Linked DNA regions of Homo sapiens: region 2 is linked to region 1. The links are contacts of gene promoters, found by promoter capture Hi-C in blood cells and fetal thymus (Javierre and others, 2016). All regions are on one chromosome and are shown on one strand. The core of a region is centred on a gene start or on the middle of the fragment in contact, and the rest is flanking DNA. Distances in the headings are between cores, read along the strand shown. Region 1 holds the start of E2F5 (E2F transcription factor 5). Region 2 has its middle 50 kb from the start of CA13.

The links. The method cuts DNA at HindIII sites, captures the fragments that hold promoters and counts their contacts. A CHiCAGO score of 5 or more calls a contact.
Region 2: a contact is called between a fragment that was not itself captured here and the fragment with the promoter of E2F5 in region 1, in 3 of 17 cell types (naive B cells, total B cells and fetal thymus). The highest score is 8.0, in naive B cells.

The regions. Positions count from the first base shown.
Region 1 is chr8:85,173,114-85,180,773 of GRCh38, reverse strand. E2F5 (E2F transcription factor 5) reads right to left here and starts at 3,620. Exons shown (of 8, transcript NM_001951.4): 1 at 3,120-3,620. The coding sequence starts at 3,353. It overlaps E2F5-DT (E2F5 divergent transcript), which reads left to right and starts at 3,733. Exons shown (of 3, transcript NR_134311.1): 1 at 3,733-3,943. RefSeq lists silencers at 2,760-3,149, 3,160-3,689 and an enhancer at 3,790-3,959. The HindIII fragment of the contact is 15,711 bases long and covers 1-7,660 here.
Region 2 is chr8:85,291,183-85,298,842 of GRCh38, reverse strand. No RefSeq gene overlaps it. Among named protein-coding and RNA genes, the nearest start is that of CA13, 50 kb to the right of the region's middle. The HindIII fragment of the contact is 510 bases long and covers 3,320-3,829 here.

The DNA of each region.
Region 1 (7,660 bases), core at 2,371-4,870:
CCCCGTCTCTACTAAAAATACAAAAAAAATTAGCCGGGCGTGATGGCGGGTGCCTGTAGTCCCAGCTACTCGGGAGGCTGAGGCAGGAGAATGGCATGAACCCGGGAGGCGGAGCTTGCAGTGAGCCGAGATTGCGCCACTGCACTCCCGCCTGGGCCACAGAGCGAGACTCTGTCTCAAAAAAAAAAAAAAAAAAAAACAAGACCAACCAAAAAACCATATATATATATATATATATATATATATATATATATATATATATGTATAGTTTCTTTAACTGCGTTTAAAAGTCAAGTGTATAACTTAAAAGTTTCAAAAAAATTATGCTGAAATATGCCCCCACCAAAGTAAGAATACAAGAGAAAATGTGTCTTTATAATTTCAAATTAGAGGAAATTTATAATTGTCAGTGTGAGTCCATCTTTAATATGTATTATCAAACATGTCTTAATGGGCTGGGTATGGTGGCTCACGCCTGTAATCCCAGCACTCTGGGAGGCTGAGGCAAGCAGATCATTTGAGGTTGGGAGTTCGAGACCAGCCTGGCCAACATGGTGAAACCCCTTCTCTACTAAACATACAAAAATGAGTCGGGCATGGTGGCGGGCACCTGTAATCCCAGCTACTTGGGAGGCTGAGGCAGGAGAATCGCTTGAACCCGGGAGGTGGAGGTTGCAGTGAGCAGAGATCTGCCACTGCACTCCAGCCTGGGTGACAGAGCAAGACTCAGTCTCAAAAAAAAAAGGCTTTAACGATCTTTTACTATGGTGTATAATAAGAAATATCATTGGAAAGATTTCAATGTAAGATTTTTGGCCGGGCGCGGTGGCTCACGCCTGTAATCCCAGCACTTTGGGAGGCCGAGGCGCGTGGATCACAAGGTCAGGAGATCGAGACCATCCTAGCTAACACAGTGAAACCCTGTCTCTACTAAAATTACAAAAAAATTAGCTGGGTGCGCTGGCGGGCGCCTGTAGTCCGAGCTACTCGGGAGGCTGACACAGGAGAATGGCGTGAACCCGGGAGGCGGAGCTTGCAGTGAGCCCAGATCGCGCCACTGCACTCCAGCCTGGGCGACAGAGCAAGACTCCGTCTCAAAAAAGAAAAAAAAAAGATTTTTACATATATAAGTATATATAAATAAATGAAAAATATACGTAAAATACATAAAACATATGTTTTTCATACATATATATGAAAACTAAAGACATTCAAACTCTTTTCTAGGAGTATGAAGTCATTAATATAATGAGACAGTGTTATTGTAGAAACCTTTGAATTTTTAGGAGAGTTCCAGAATGAATAAAGCAATTATTGTCATGAAATACCAAACTTTACATCCTACTCACTGCCTCTGTGACTTCTGTAGGGCAATTATATAGCCACAGATGAAACAGGAGGAAGCTAAAGAATTTCAAGTCAAGAAAGGGCAAAGTTCCACCATATCCTGAGGCAAGCTGAGGGAGAAGCCCTCAAAGTCCAGCCGTCAGAGTTCAGTTTTACCTGGAAAACCCCAAACTTCCCTGATTTTCTTACACCAAAGTCACAGGCTACAGCTGAATTTCTAGATTTTGAACAGCAGTTTGCCACCTGTGCTTTGTAACATTCCTGGCTTTCTCTGATAACTTCATGACTTCCTGTGAAATTCTTTAAACAGAATCCATTTTAATTCACTACAATTTAAATACTACACATGCCATAAATCACTTTCAGGGAGAGAAAGGAAGAAGGGGCTGTGGTGGAAAAAAGAGAACAAGGAATTTCCAGAGGTGGGAAAAAAATTCCAGGAATAACATATCAAAAAGAAAATAGTAGAAATTACTTACCAAAATGCAAAATATGTGCAGCATGCCTCAGTTGTATGAAGTTGAACAATTTAGGTAATTCAGTTCAACAATCACTGATTGAACACCAACTACATCCAGGGAAAGGAGAGGGCACTGAAAAGATCTACTTCCCCTTGGGCTACACTGGAGGAGGGCCTCTAGCAGAAGAGTTGGCCCCTGCAAGTCTTGGTCCTTACATTCAGGGAGCTGCCACTGCTTTATGCAGAGCCTTGAGGATGCAGTGACACTCTCAAGCCAGGTAAGGTGGTCCAGGCACTCCCCTGGGAGCTGGGGCCAATCCTCCAAGTAAGGCCACATTTAGGGAGTCAAAGGGGATTTGCAGTGATTATTGGGCAGTTAGTGTTTTTTGTTTGTTTGTTTCTAAAACTTTAGTTCTTAAACTTCGCGCGGAGTGACCACATTCTCATTATCCTGAGCGCTGTTGAATTCTTCCAAATCCTTCCTAGATCGGTTAAGTCATTCTGTATGACAGAACAGCTTTTGATGCCTGCTCCTGTTTGAAAAATCTGAACGCTGTAAAGGACGACGCAGGGAGAGAGTTTACTGAGCACTTCCACCTCTTTGGGTGAAAGTTGTAAAATATCCCCTTTTCGTGTGACAGCAGATCTCACTTTTGGAAACCCATGACACATGCCAAATGAAGTCACAAATCAAATACCCCTCCTAACTATCAGGGTGATGAAAGAAGTGCACAAGGAAGATTTAATACTATTTTATCGGGGAGGGGCGTGGAAAGAAGTACTCTTTTTTTTTTTTCTTTCATCTGGTAGAGATGGCAGACTGGGTTTTGTTTTTCCTCCTTTTTATTTAAACTACAGGAACATGGTTCCAACTGGAATCGCCTATTAAAACCATCCATTCTTAACAGCAAAATCGATATCCACGGTGTCTCCGGGCAAAGCGCCCGTTACCCCGTGAGCCTCTGCCACAGGTGGACGCAGAGCAACAGACACTCGGTTACCCTCAGGTCCCTGCGCCCGGAGACAGAAGCCACGCGGGCGCGCTCGAGGTCCTGGGCTCTTTGTCGAGAGCCCAGCGTGGCGCCGGGCCCCATTGGTTACGCGTCCGCTCGGTGCCATCCTGGTCCCTCGTCCCTCCCCCATCCCGGCGTCCACGACCCGGGCGCAGGCCACATGGTCCTCGGATTGCCCGGTCCCGGGTCCCCGCAAGGCGCGTCTACACCACGCCGCTAGACCCACGCGGCGAGGGGCTGGGCTTCCCCGGGGGCCACGGGTTCCGAAGTCCGCCCCCGTCCCCGCCTCCGGAGCTCACCGCTTTGAGATCCAGAACGCCGTCCTTGGCCTCCTGCAGCAGCGACACGAACTTGGTAGTGAGCAGCCCCAGGCTCTTCTCGTGCCTGCTGCTGCCGCCCCCGGCGCCCCCGAGCTGCGGCGGCGGGGGCGGCTGCGGGGCTTGCGCCTGCGGAGGCTGCGGCGGCGGCCGCTGGCCCTGCCCCTGCCCTGCCGGCGCCTGCTGGCCCGAGCTCGCGGGCTCTGCCGCCGCCATCGCGTCCCGGCCCCGCGGTGGTCGGGCCCCCGCGCACTTTCGCTCGCCGGCCCCGCCCGCGGCCACCTGCCGGGTCGGCTCCGCTGCGGCCGCTTCCCCGCCCGCCGAGAGCGGTAGTGCGGGTCGCTGGCTGCTGCAAACAACAGGTGTGCGGCGCCCACGGGAGTCTGGGCCGCTTGTCACGCCGGGCCTCCGCCCCCTCCCCAAGCCCGGGGAAGCGTGAATGAGGCCCACGACCGAGGGGGGAGGGGTGGAAACGAGGAGAAGGGGCTGCGAGGGGTGGGGACCTGAGTTTAAATGGCAGGAAGTGACGCCGCCGCCCGCCGTTGCCTAGAAACACATTTTTCTGTAGGAAGGAGGAGCGCACGAGGAGGAGGAGGGGTGTTGGCGCGTGTGTTTCACACTCGCCTCCCTGGCGTTCGCGAGCTGACCCGAGGAGTGGTAATCTCACGCGGCAAAGCAGGGAGGAAGAAAAAAAGGAGACAAAAGAAAAAAAGACTTTTATCTGGGCAGAAAGTCACAATGCCTAGCGGCCAAACGTTTGTGAGCGGTGAAGTTGGTTGACTGCTCAAGTTTGCAGAGCTTCAGCAGTAGGTTACTTTCTCTGGACGGTTTCTGCTATCTTTGCTCTTTTCGAGCTCTAGCATCGTTTGCAAATATTTCAATGACTTGGACCAAGTGCAGAGTTTTACTTCATAGCTCACCCTTTTAGATTCGGAGTACAGAAAAAGGCATCGTGGAGTTTTAGGGTTGGTTTTCATCAATCCTTTCCAAGGCCTTTACTTTCTACATGGAGAAACGTGTAGAGGGAGAGGTTGTGAATTGCCAAAGACATGCCGTTAGATTCCAGATCTCCTGTGTTTGACCAAAGTTCTTGACCAAAGTTCTTAATATCTTATTTGAACCAAATTATATTGTATTTGGAATATTGGGTAGCCACAGGCCCTTGGACTTCAGTGATATTCCAAACTATTGATGGCAAATGACATTATGGAGATCTGAGTAAAAGAAAGTCGTTGGGATTTTTTCCTCATTATATTACAAACTCTTGAGAATCCAGACTAAATTTTAAATGACTTGTTGTCACACTCAACACTTTGAATATAGTAGACAATAAAGATTAGGCGAATGAGACCAGGCGCGGTGGCTTACGCCTGTAATCCCAGCACTTTGGGAGGCCGAGGCAGGCAGATCATTTGAGATCAGGAGTTCGAGACCAACCTGGCCAACATGGTAAAACCCCGTCTCTACTAAAAATACAAAAATTAGCGGGGGGTGGTGGTGCCCGCCTATAGTCCCAGCTACTCCAGAGCCTGAGGCAGGAGAATCTCTTAAACCCAGGAGGCAGACGTTGCAGTGTTGCAGTGAGCCGAGATGCCACCACTGCACTTCAGCCTGGGCAACAAAGCAAGACTCTGTCTCAAATAAAAAAAAAAAAGATTAGGTGAATGAAAATTCTATATGGCAATAATTAATCAAGAAGATTTCATGCAAGAAAGATTTTGCTTAATTTTAAGTAACAATAAACTAACAAAAAAGGTCACTGAAGCGACATCAAATACAACAGCATTAACTAGTAAAGCTGAACACACCATTTATAACACATCATAGGCACAGAACTTTATAACCTTTATTAATAACCTATTCATAATAACCTTTATTTTAATCAAATCTATAAACAAAACTTAAAATTGAAAATCTGAAGTAAAACATGAAAAATTCAGTTGATACAACCATTTTCCAACAACCTATCCAAGAAAGGCTATCTTTATTTGATTTGACATGGGACACATCATTGACAAGTTTTGCAAATTTATTTTATTGATTATTGTCAAGTAGTATTTCTTAGAACATACTGAATTAGGAAGATTCTAATTTGTTTTTAACTTTATAACAGAACATTGTGTTATATGTGCAGGGACAGGAATTAATAACACTAAATGTATTAATATTTTTAAAACTTACACTTCTATGGTGTCTTAGTTTGAGAAAGTACCATAAACTGGGTGACTTAACGGAAATTAATTTTCTCACAGTTCTGGAGGCTGCAAGTCGACGATCAGGAGGCTGCCATGGCCAGGTTGTGGTGAGGGCCCCCTTCTTGGCTGTCAGATTGTGGCTTTCTCATTGTGTCAAATGGCAGAGAGAGAGAGAAAGACAGACAGAACAGAGACAGCATAAGCTCTCAGATTTCTTATAAGGGCACTAATTCCATCTGAGGGCTCAATCTTCACGATTTCATCTAAACCTAATCACCTCCCAAAGGCCCGAGGGTTAGGGTTTCAACATACAAATGTTGGGGAGATATAGTTCATCCCATGGCATGTAATCATATTTTATAGTAGCTATCTTGGTAATTTTTAAAAACAATATTTTTTAAATTTCAGCTTTAAAAGGTTTTCTACAAAGCAATTATATTATTAGTGATTCTAAAAGGTCAATTAACAATTTATTTTGCACTGTTATTTGTGTTTTTCACAATGAATTTTTTATCTCTTTAGATTGCCTGGGGTTCAATTAGAAATTATTCACAAATTAGCAGCCATTTTAATTAGCATTCAAAATCTTATGTCTGTCTGAAGAGCTAAAAATCGCTTATACCAGTGGTTCCCAGACCTTAGGGGAAAAAATCATCTACAATGTTTGTTAAAAATCTAGATGCTTGGATCCAAACCCCAGGGATCAAATTAGCATTTGATATGAGAATATGACCTGTGAGTCCACATTTTTCACAGTTCAGATAATTCTCATGCACAACATAGTCATTCTTTGAGAAACGCCAAATAGCACAATGAAAAATAATGCAATATATATTTTTCCTAAAAATCGACAAAAAACAGAGATTGATAATGCAAAAGTTTTTTAAATATTGCTAAATGTTTTTAAAAATTCTATTTTTTAAAAAAACTAAGAAACATGATTTTTTAAAAGTTATGATACAAATAATGTTTAAGAACATGATATTGATCAGTTTTGTAATTTAACTTTTATTTCTGTATCCTTTTGACTATAAAGGAGATAACTCTCAAAAGGCTGTAAATTCCTACATCAGTTCTTTGTGCCATTTCTGACAAAGGCTTAAAAATTATTTCCAACAAAAGTCAAAGCTGGCTGAGTGCTCACGCCTGGCTGGGCACTCACGCCTGTCTGTAATCCTAGCACTTTGGAGGGCTGAGAGAAGAGGATTGCCTGAACCCAGGAACTCAGGACCAGCCTGGACAACATGGCAAAACCCCATTTCTACAAAAACTACAAAAATTAGCTGGGCGTGGTAGTGCACACTTGTAGTCCCAGCCACTAGAGAGGCTGAGGTGAGAGGATCACTTGAGCCCAAGAGGTCAAGGATGTAGTGACCTGTCATCCTGCCACTGCAATCCAGCCTGAGTGACAGAGTGAGAATCTATCCTAAAAAAAAAAAAAAAAAAAAAAATCCAATTGAACTAAACTATATTTCATTGACCTATAAGGGTAATAAATGCATAACAGTAATCCTTCATTAAATTCAATTTACGCTGATTAGTTGGGTAGATACTATTTTCAATTATAATATTGTTTATATGCCCCTGGTTAAATTTTCTTTTTTTAAATGCATTTTGGAAGTGCAGCTCCTTAGCTAGTTCAGGACTAAGAAGGAAGGCTTAAATATTTCAAAACAGAATGATTTCTTAGTCCACAGCTCATTAAACTTATAGTATCTAACATTTGTGGAATTTCACAAATGCCATTTTTATAGAGATTCAGGATCAATTTAAAATATGCACAGTTTTGTCATAATCTGGTAGTTAAATATTTAAGAAAATCCAACAAAATTTTACTTGTTTATTGATGATGACAGACTGACTTTTTTTTTTTTTTTTGAGATGGAGTTTTGCTCTTGTTGCCCAGGCTGGAGTGCAATGGCATGATCTCAGCTCACTGCAACCTCTGCTTCCCAGGTTCAAGAGATTCTCCTGCCTTAGCCTCCCTAGTAGCTGGGATTACAGGCATGCACCACCATGCCCAGCTAATTTTGTTTTTTTAGTAGAGGCAGGGTTTCGCCATTTTGGTCAGGCTGGTTTTGAACTCCTGACCTCAGGTGATCCACCCACCCTGGTCTGCCAAAGTGTTGGGATTACAGGCATGAGCCACCATACCTGGCCATGCAGACTGATTTTTTAAGTGCATTAGCCCATTCGGTGATCATGAATGGTTGGAACTTTAGACTCTCAGATGCCCTTTGAGCTAACAAATCTCCATCAAAAGACTGCTACATCAACCCTAATACCTTCTTCTTGTAATCTAAGTTAATGAAAATAAAATACAGTTTT
Region 2 (7,660 bases), core at 2,325-4,824, 120 kb before region 1:
GTGAGAATTAGTACTTCTCTCATGGCCACTGCCCCTAATCTAAATCTAAAAATATGCGGAAAGTCATGCTCATATTGGGCCATAGGTGATTCAGTTGTGGGTGGGTAGGGCCAGCAATCCCAAAGGTGTATCCAAATGTTTTCTTATATGAAAAAGCAATAATCTGAGTTCTCTAGAAACTCAAGTCTAGAAAATTCTAATCACATTCCCATAACTTTTCACGAACAAAATAAGTGTTTTACTTTCTCTAACGCTAGGAATATCCTCTGAAGAATGGAGTCTTGTGTATGGATGACTGGGTAGATAAGGTACCACAGGGGAAAAAGCTAGACTGGGCAAGGTTGTAGATTGCTTTTAATGAAATCTTTGAGGCCTGAAGGCAGGGATGTGGTCTTGACCCAGCAGAAAACCTGGAGTTGAATAAGGAATGAAGAAAGAACACCAGCTAACCTTCAAAGAATCCCAACCTCACTGGGAATCTCGACAAGAATGGAGCGTGCCAAAGAGAAGGTCAGGGAGGTAAGATTAACACAGGGGCCCTTTGTAAGAAAGCTTTTGATTAAAAAGCTTTTAATTAATGGGTCTTTGAAATCCACTGGCTGATCAAAACTGCTGAAGACCCTTGATCTAGTCCATCCCACCTGCACAGAAGAACAGTGTTCACAGAAGAGACTCTATGCCACTTGTGGAAAACTTATAACAAGATTACACATTTATAGAAGTATAGGTGAAGAGTAATCCAACGTTCAAGCAGCCTTGGCATTAGGAAATTTTAATCCAAACCTGCTTTCACCCGAGGCCACTTCTCCTTATTTTATGCCTAGCAGAGGTAGACTGCAGAGGGCTGAGCACAACTAATGTTTACTGTTAATGAATACTTCTCTGCCTTCTCTTCCCTAGCAGCAGCAAAAGCAAGGCCCAGTGGATTCAGTTTGGGACCCAGAGGATTAACAATGCCCAGAGCAGGTGGCAGAGCTGCTCCCACAGGGAATGGTGGCCAAGTGATGCACCTGGAAGGTAGGAGGAGGAGAGAGGGAGGTGAGGACAAAAGAGAAGAAATTATGAGACACCAAGTGCAAACTGACTTGACTCACTCATTACCACAAATGAGACACTCTTTGGGAATATTTAGAAATAGTTAGGAGAGGGAGACTTCGGAAGAGGCTGAAATCTTGCACTAGCAGGTGGGAGTAAAGTAATGGTCATGGTGCCTCATTGCCTCATCCGCTACCAGGTAGTGCAAATCAGCCTTTCTGATGCGACACCACCACCTGGTGGTTAAGATGAGGAACAAGTCACTGCTGTCTCTGCACCTTCCTTTTTCCTTTTTTAGGGAGATGAATGCTCACATAATTGTTTTCTCTTAAGGCTTCTTTAATTCCTGTTAAATACTCCTTCTCCTTTACTGCATATTCTCCCTTTCAAGTACTGACCAGTTACTGCAAGAACATTTTATTTTATTCTCTCCATCCTCTCCCTCACTCCCTTTCTCTGTTTCTCACCCTAGCGTGTTGTTCTGGAAGACAAGGTGCCCGTAATGAAGAGACTACCTGAGTACTGGGAAATATGGCATCTATCATATTGTGAGTAACGATCTTCACTATGAATCAGCTACTTGAAAGTAAGATTTATATTGTTGAACATTGCATGAAAACTTTTAGGAGGATTTCAAAGTACTACTGAAAACAGTTTGTGAATATATGCATGTGCATAGGTGCATTAACGTCTTAAAAACTGCAATATCTTTTAAGCATTTTTTAAGGAACACCCATGAACTCAATATAACATAAAAGCTGACATATAATTGTAGATTTACACCCAGTCTTCTATAGATGCACACAACTTATCCAGAAAATTAAGGATTATATTGTCAATGTATACGTTAGTTCAAATGTGCATGAAAAAATATGCATTGGTTAATTAAATAAACACCTATTGATGTCTATCATGAGTCAAACATGGTTTAGGTGCTAAAAACTCTTGATTAACAAAATGAAAAACACTTCCTTAAGGAGGTTACATTCTTGTAAGACAGACTGATGTTTAAAAATAAATAATATTATGTTAATGATGTTGTAAATGACATGAAAAATAATAAATCAGAGTAAGGGGAAAGAAAGTAACAGGGCTGCTACTTAGAAAGTGTGGTCAGGGAAGGCCTCTTTGAAGAGGTGACATTTGAATGAATGAGGAAGTGATTCATATGAGTATCTGAGGAAGAGCATTGCAGGCAAAGAGAATATCCACTGTAAAGACTTGAAAAGGCCTGGCAGAGGAAAAACGAGGGTGTCAAGACTGAAGAGTGGTGGATGGGACAGCAGGAGAGAAGGGGGGCAGGAGCCACAAGAGCACAGATCACAGAGTACTCTATATGCCATCATAGGCACAGCAGATTTTGTTCTGAGTCATAGGAAGTCACTGCAGTGTGGAGCTCAAATGGAGTGAAGCACTCTGACCTGCTTTTTCAAAGAATCACCCTGGCCGCTGTGTGAACAATGTAGGGGGTAAAGAGTGGAGCAGAGAGACCAGCTGAGAGCCATATTTTAAGACTAGCATCCACAGGACTTGCTAGCAGATTCAATCTGGGTGTGAGCGAAAGAGAGTACAGAGATGACTGTGAGTTTTGTGTAGCTAGTGGTGCCATTTACTGAGATGGAGCATCCTTGGGAAGGGAAGGTTGCAGGCACAACAAGGGGATGGGAAGCAGAATTGAGGGATCTGGACATGCTAATGTTGACATGTCTGTCAGACATTCCATGGAGCAGTCTTATAGGCAGTTGGGTATATGAGTTCCAAGTTCAGGGGAAAGATTGGGAATGGATATATATATCTGATATATGCTGATATACACACACACATATATATAGTATATATATTTGAATATATATACATATATATGATATATAGTATATACATCTGAATATATATATACACATATATATGATATATATATACACACACACACACGTGTATATATATATGTATACATCAACCATGTTTTTAAATGTCATTTAAAGTCATGGGGCTAGAAAAAAAAATTACCCAGGAAGTAAGTGAAGCAGAGAGAGAACAGACCAGAAAGGGACAGCTGGTGAGGAGGGAGGAAACCAGGACATTCACCTCAGAAGGCAAGTGAAGAGACAGAAACACGACATATACCCATGTCTGGTAAATAATTAAATTCAGGATTAGGCATTCACTATTTCTCTGATTCCCTGTCAAGCACTGAAGAGGAATGGAAGTGGGCAAGGGTGAAAAAGCATAGATAAATTTTGGTTTTGATTTACAACTTAGTTACAAAGTGTTTCATATGTAAGCTTACCTACATGAAATTATTACAGAACAAGAGTATGTAATTAAGTTTCACCAAGTCATTTGAAAGATGCTACCTGACCTAATGATAAGCTGACACATTCACAAGAAATATGAACTGTCTACAGAGACTCATTCAAGCATACTGAAATAGATATAGCTGAGATCTTTATCTTAAAAAAAGGTTAAAATGGAATATGTCCTCCTAGCCTTTTCAATCTTACTGATTTTTAACAAGCATACACTTTCATTATATATGACAAAAAGTCTTTGCTTGAATACAAATGAAGTGTGTTCTCATAACAAATAAAACAAACAGAGCTCTCTTATTCTTCTTGGTTGAGAAGCCAGATTTGGATTTGCTTTTTCTTAATAAAGTCATTTACATAAAAGAATATTTGGAGCTGAAATTTCAAATTCTTGTGATGAGTGAGCAAGCTCAGCTGAAAGCATGCTTCTGGATGGCTGCAAAGCACAACAGAACCTTTCATTATTTGGGGAAGGAGGATTTCAAGCTTGTATTTATCCAGGCTCCAATTTCTAAGAGGAAAAACACAGAAAGTATATCCACTATACAGGAAATAAGAGAAGGAAATAGATGAGGGTGTAGGAATTGTTGTTTTATTTGATCTCAGGATGTCTGAGTGACAGATGGAATAACCCAGCACAGCATAGTCTTTATGCCAAGAGAAAGAGGCACTGCTAGATACACAACATTTGGGTGGCCCCTTGGGACCAGGGCTGCCGGAGTTTCATGGATCCCAAAGATTTTTATTATACAATAACCCTGAAAATTGTCTTTAAAAGTCATTATACCTGTAAAACCTCTACTTAGTCACAAAACTATGATTAGTCTTACTTATATTTATCTCAGTCAGTGCCTTCTGTCTGCATCCCTGTATTTCTCTTCTTGCTTTTCATCCTAGCTGGTTGAGAAAACACTGCATCTACCTGTATCAAATGCTAACACAGGTTTCCTAGAAGAAAATTCCTATGAAAATAAAACCAGATGAAATAAACAGATTATATTGAGTTTTGGGGGCTATGCTGTCTCATCATCTTTAATTACAACACTTTGTTTTCTTTTTATATATTCAATAAGTAGTTTTAAACAATATCATTGTGGCTGGGTGCGGTGGCTCATGCCTGTAATCCCAGCACTTTGGGAGGCCGAGGTGGGCAGATCACGAGGTCAGGAGATCGAGACCTTCCTGGCTAACATGGTGAAACCCTGTCTCTACTAAAAATACAAAAAAATTAGCCAGGCGTGGTGGTGGGCACCTATAGTCCCAGCTACTCAGGAGGCTGAGGCAGGAGAATGGCCTGAACCTGGGAGGCAGAGCTTGCAGTGAGCCGAGATCGCGCCACTGCACTCCAGCCTGGGTGACAGAACGAGACTCCGTCACACACACATACAAAAAAACAAATATCATTGTGTAGTCCTTGGGGGCTATACTGAGACTTTCCCACAAGAACTTGAGAATAAGTAAAATGAGCTTAAAATTTTATATTACATGTTTGCTCTCTCAGAGTTGGACTTTGCAATATATACCTTATGAATAAGAACCAAAATATAAACACACTCCTTAAAGGGCAGAGTGGCTTCAGATTTGAAAATCTTACTTGAGTGCATGTGTTAACATGTCCAATATAAGGAAGTGCCAACTAGGGAAATGGTGGATTTATCACAGAATAGAAAACTGAAAACCACAGAAGCACATATTGCTAGTTTATCCAAATATATTCCAGTGTTTAAGAAAACATTAGTCAACAGGCCAAGTATTTTAGTCCTTTTGGCAAAACTATACATATTTTGAAGAAAATGCTGGGAAGTACAGCCAACAAAATTCTATTATTATGTCCCACTTTGAAAATGATTCTTTAGACGAGTCGGATGTTTCAGACAATTTCTTTCTCCTATTTGTCGTATTTTTCTGAGATCCATACTCACCAAGTAAACATCTTATATAATTTGGTTTCCTGTATAGAGTGGACTTCCTAGTGGTGCTCAAGAAATATTCTTTGAATGAACGTTCATGTTTGATTAGTGTTCCAGCTAATGTAAGACTCATATCACTCATTATAAATTAATAACTTGACTTTTTAACTTATATTTCAGACTTGTGAACTCACTTATGGTAAGTCTGCCCATGAGAAAGGGACATCGTGCTGACAAATTATGTTTCTGATTTTGCAGAGCTGAGAGTTTGACTCTATACCTAGAGGACTTCATCAAACTCCTGAGACTCCCTAGGGAAATAGCCATCTGGTCTACTCCTGGCCACATATGCCTATTGCAGTGCTATAATCCAGCAAAAACAAACAAACAAACAAAAACAACCTAAAGTGTAACAAATCTGTCAAGATAGATTACTGCTCTTTTCCAAGAGAAGAGGGAAGAACTGCAAGGTAGGGCCTTGGAAATGTAAATGCCTACAGGTAGAAGAGAAGGCATGAGAAGAAGTGGGAGGCCAATACGTGTAAAAGTTGAGACTGGGAAAGAGCGTGGCAAAGAAACTTGAAGTTCATGGTCAGAATCATTCAGAAATACACAAGAAAATAGAAGGCACTAGGGACAGGTTTTCAAAACCGAATGCTTAGAACAGGAGGGGTGGCAGTTTGCTAGGAACAAAACTAGATAGGGAATTTTTGTGGATAGAACCCAGGGAACTGCTTGGCCAGGGCCTTAAGAGACTATACAGTAAATTGTTGAGACTTGAATTCAAGGAATTAACTCAAACACAATGAAAATTATATTGTCCCTTTAGCATCTAAACAGGAATTAACACAGATCCCTTGGCCTTGGACTTGATGGGAGGAAGTAAAGTGGCAAGGAAGAGATAACAGTAAAAGTGAGGAAAGGCCATAAAGGAAGAGGGAACCTAGAGTGCCTGGAATAGAGTGACGAGTGCTGTGTCTAATAGTGTGAGACAGTGTGAATACTATTACCTTTTGGTATCTAGGTAATATATTTGTGTAGGTGTATATGGTTTTATTACAGCATATGCCACTTTGCTCAGTAGAATTGATCACTACTTTAGAAGAAAGGAGTGCTGGGACGAACAAGTGGTAGGACACTGAATCATGGGGCTTGCTTTACAGGAGTGCTTTTTTTTTTTTTTTTTTTTTTGAGATGGAGTCTTGCTCTGTCGCCCAGGCTGGAATGCAGTGGCGCAATCTTGGCTCACTGCAACCTCTGGCTCCCAGGTTCAAGCGATTATCCTATCTCAGCCTCAAAAGTAGCTGGGATTACAGGCACGTACCACCACACCCAGCTAATTTTTGTTGTTGTTGTATTTTTAGTAGAGATGGGGTTTCACCATGTTAGCCAGACTGGTCTCGAACTCTTGACCTCAAGTGATCCACCTGCCTTGGCCTCTCAAAGTGCTGGGATTAAAGGCGTGAGCCACGGTGACTGGCCACAGGAGTAGTTCTTAATCCTTCTGGTCTCAGGACCCTTTTCACTCTTAAGAGTTACTGAAGATCTCAAAGAGCTTTTGTTTATGTGGATTATATCTGTTGATATTTACTGAATTGGAAATTTAAACAGAAGATTTAAAGTATTTCTTTATTAATTCATTTAAAGGTAATAAATGCATATAATGAATAATAAATTAGCATAAATAACAAATTTTGTGTAAATAATATTTTACCAGAAAAGGTATTAAAAAAAGAGATATTTACATTTTTTATAAATCCCTTAATGTCTGGCTAAATAGAAGACAGCTGGATTTTTACAGCTGTTTCTGCATTCAATCTGCTGTGATAGGCTGTTTTGTTTGAACTGCTTGAAGGAAATCCAGACACACAGATATGTAGCTTGAAAAATGGAGGAGGAAGTTAGTAGCTTTTTCAGATAATTGTGTATATTTGTCTTCAGTACTACACCAAAACCTAACAAGTAGTGGTTTTTTTTTTTTTTGAGAAGGAGTCTTGGCTCTTGTCACCCAGGCTGGAGTGCAATGACGCGATCACGGCTCACTGCAACCTCCGCCTCCCCGGTTCAAGCGATTCTCCTGCCTCAGCCTCCCAGGTAGCTGGGATTACAGCTGTCCGCCACTACACACAGCTAATTTTTGTATTTTTAGTAGAGACAGGGTTTCACCATGTTGGCCAGGCTGGTCTCAAACTCCTGACCTCATGTGATCCGTCTGCCTCGGCCTCCCAAAGTGCTGGGATTACAGGCATGAGCCACAATGCCCGGCCACAAGTGATGGTTTCTTAAAACCATATGAATAAACTTTATGAATAAACCACAGGAATAAACTTTTCATACTTGTTCCAGTAAAATCTATTGTTCTATATTGAATTTTGGATAGACAGATTTTTCTGTGCATGCCTGTGTAAC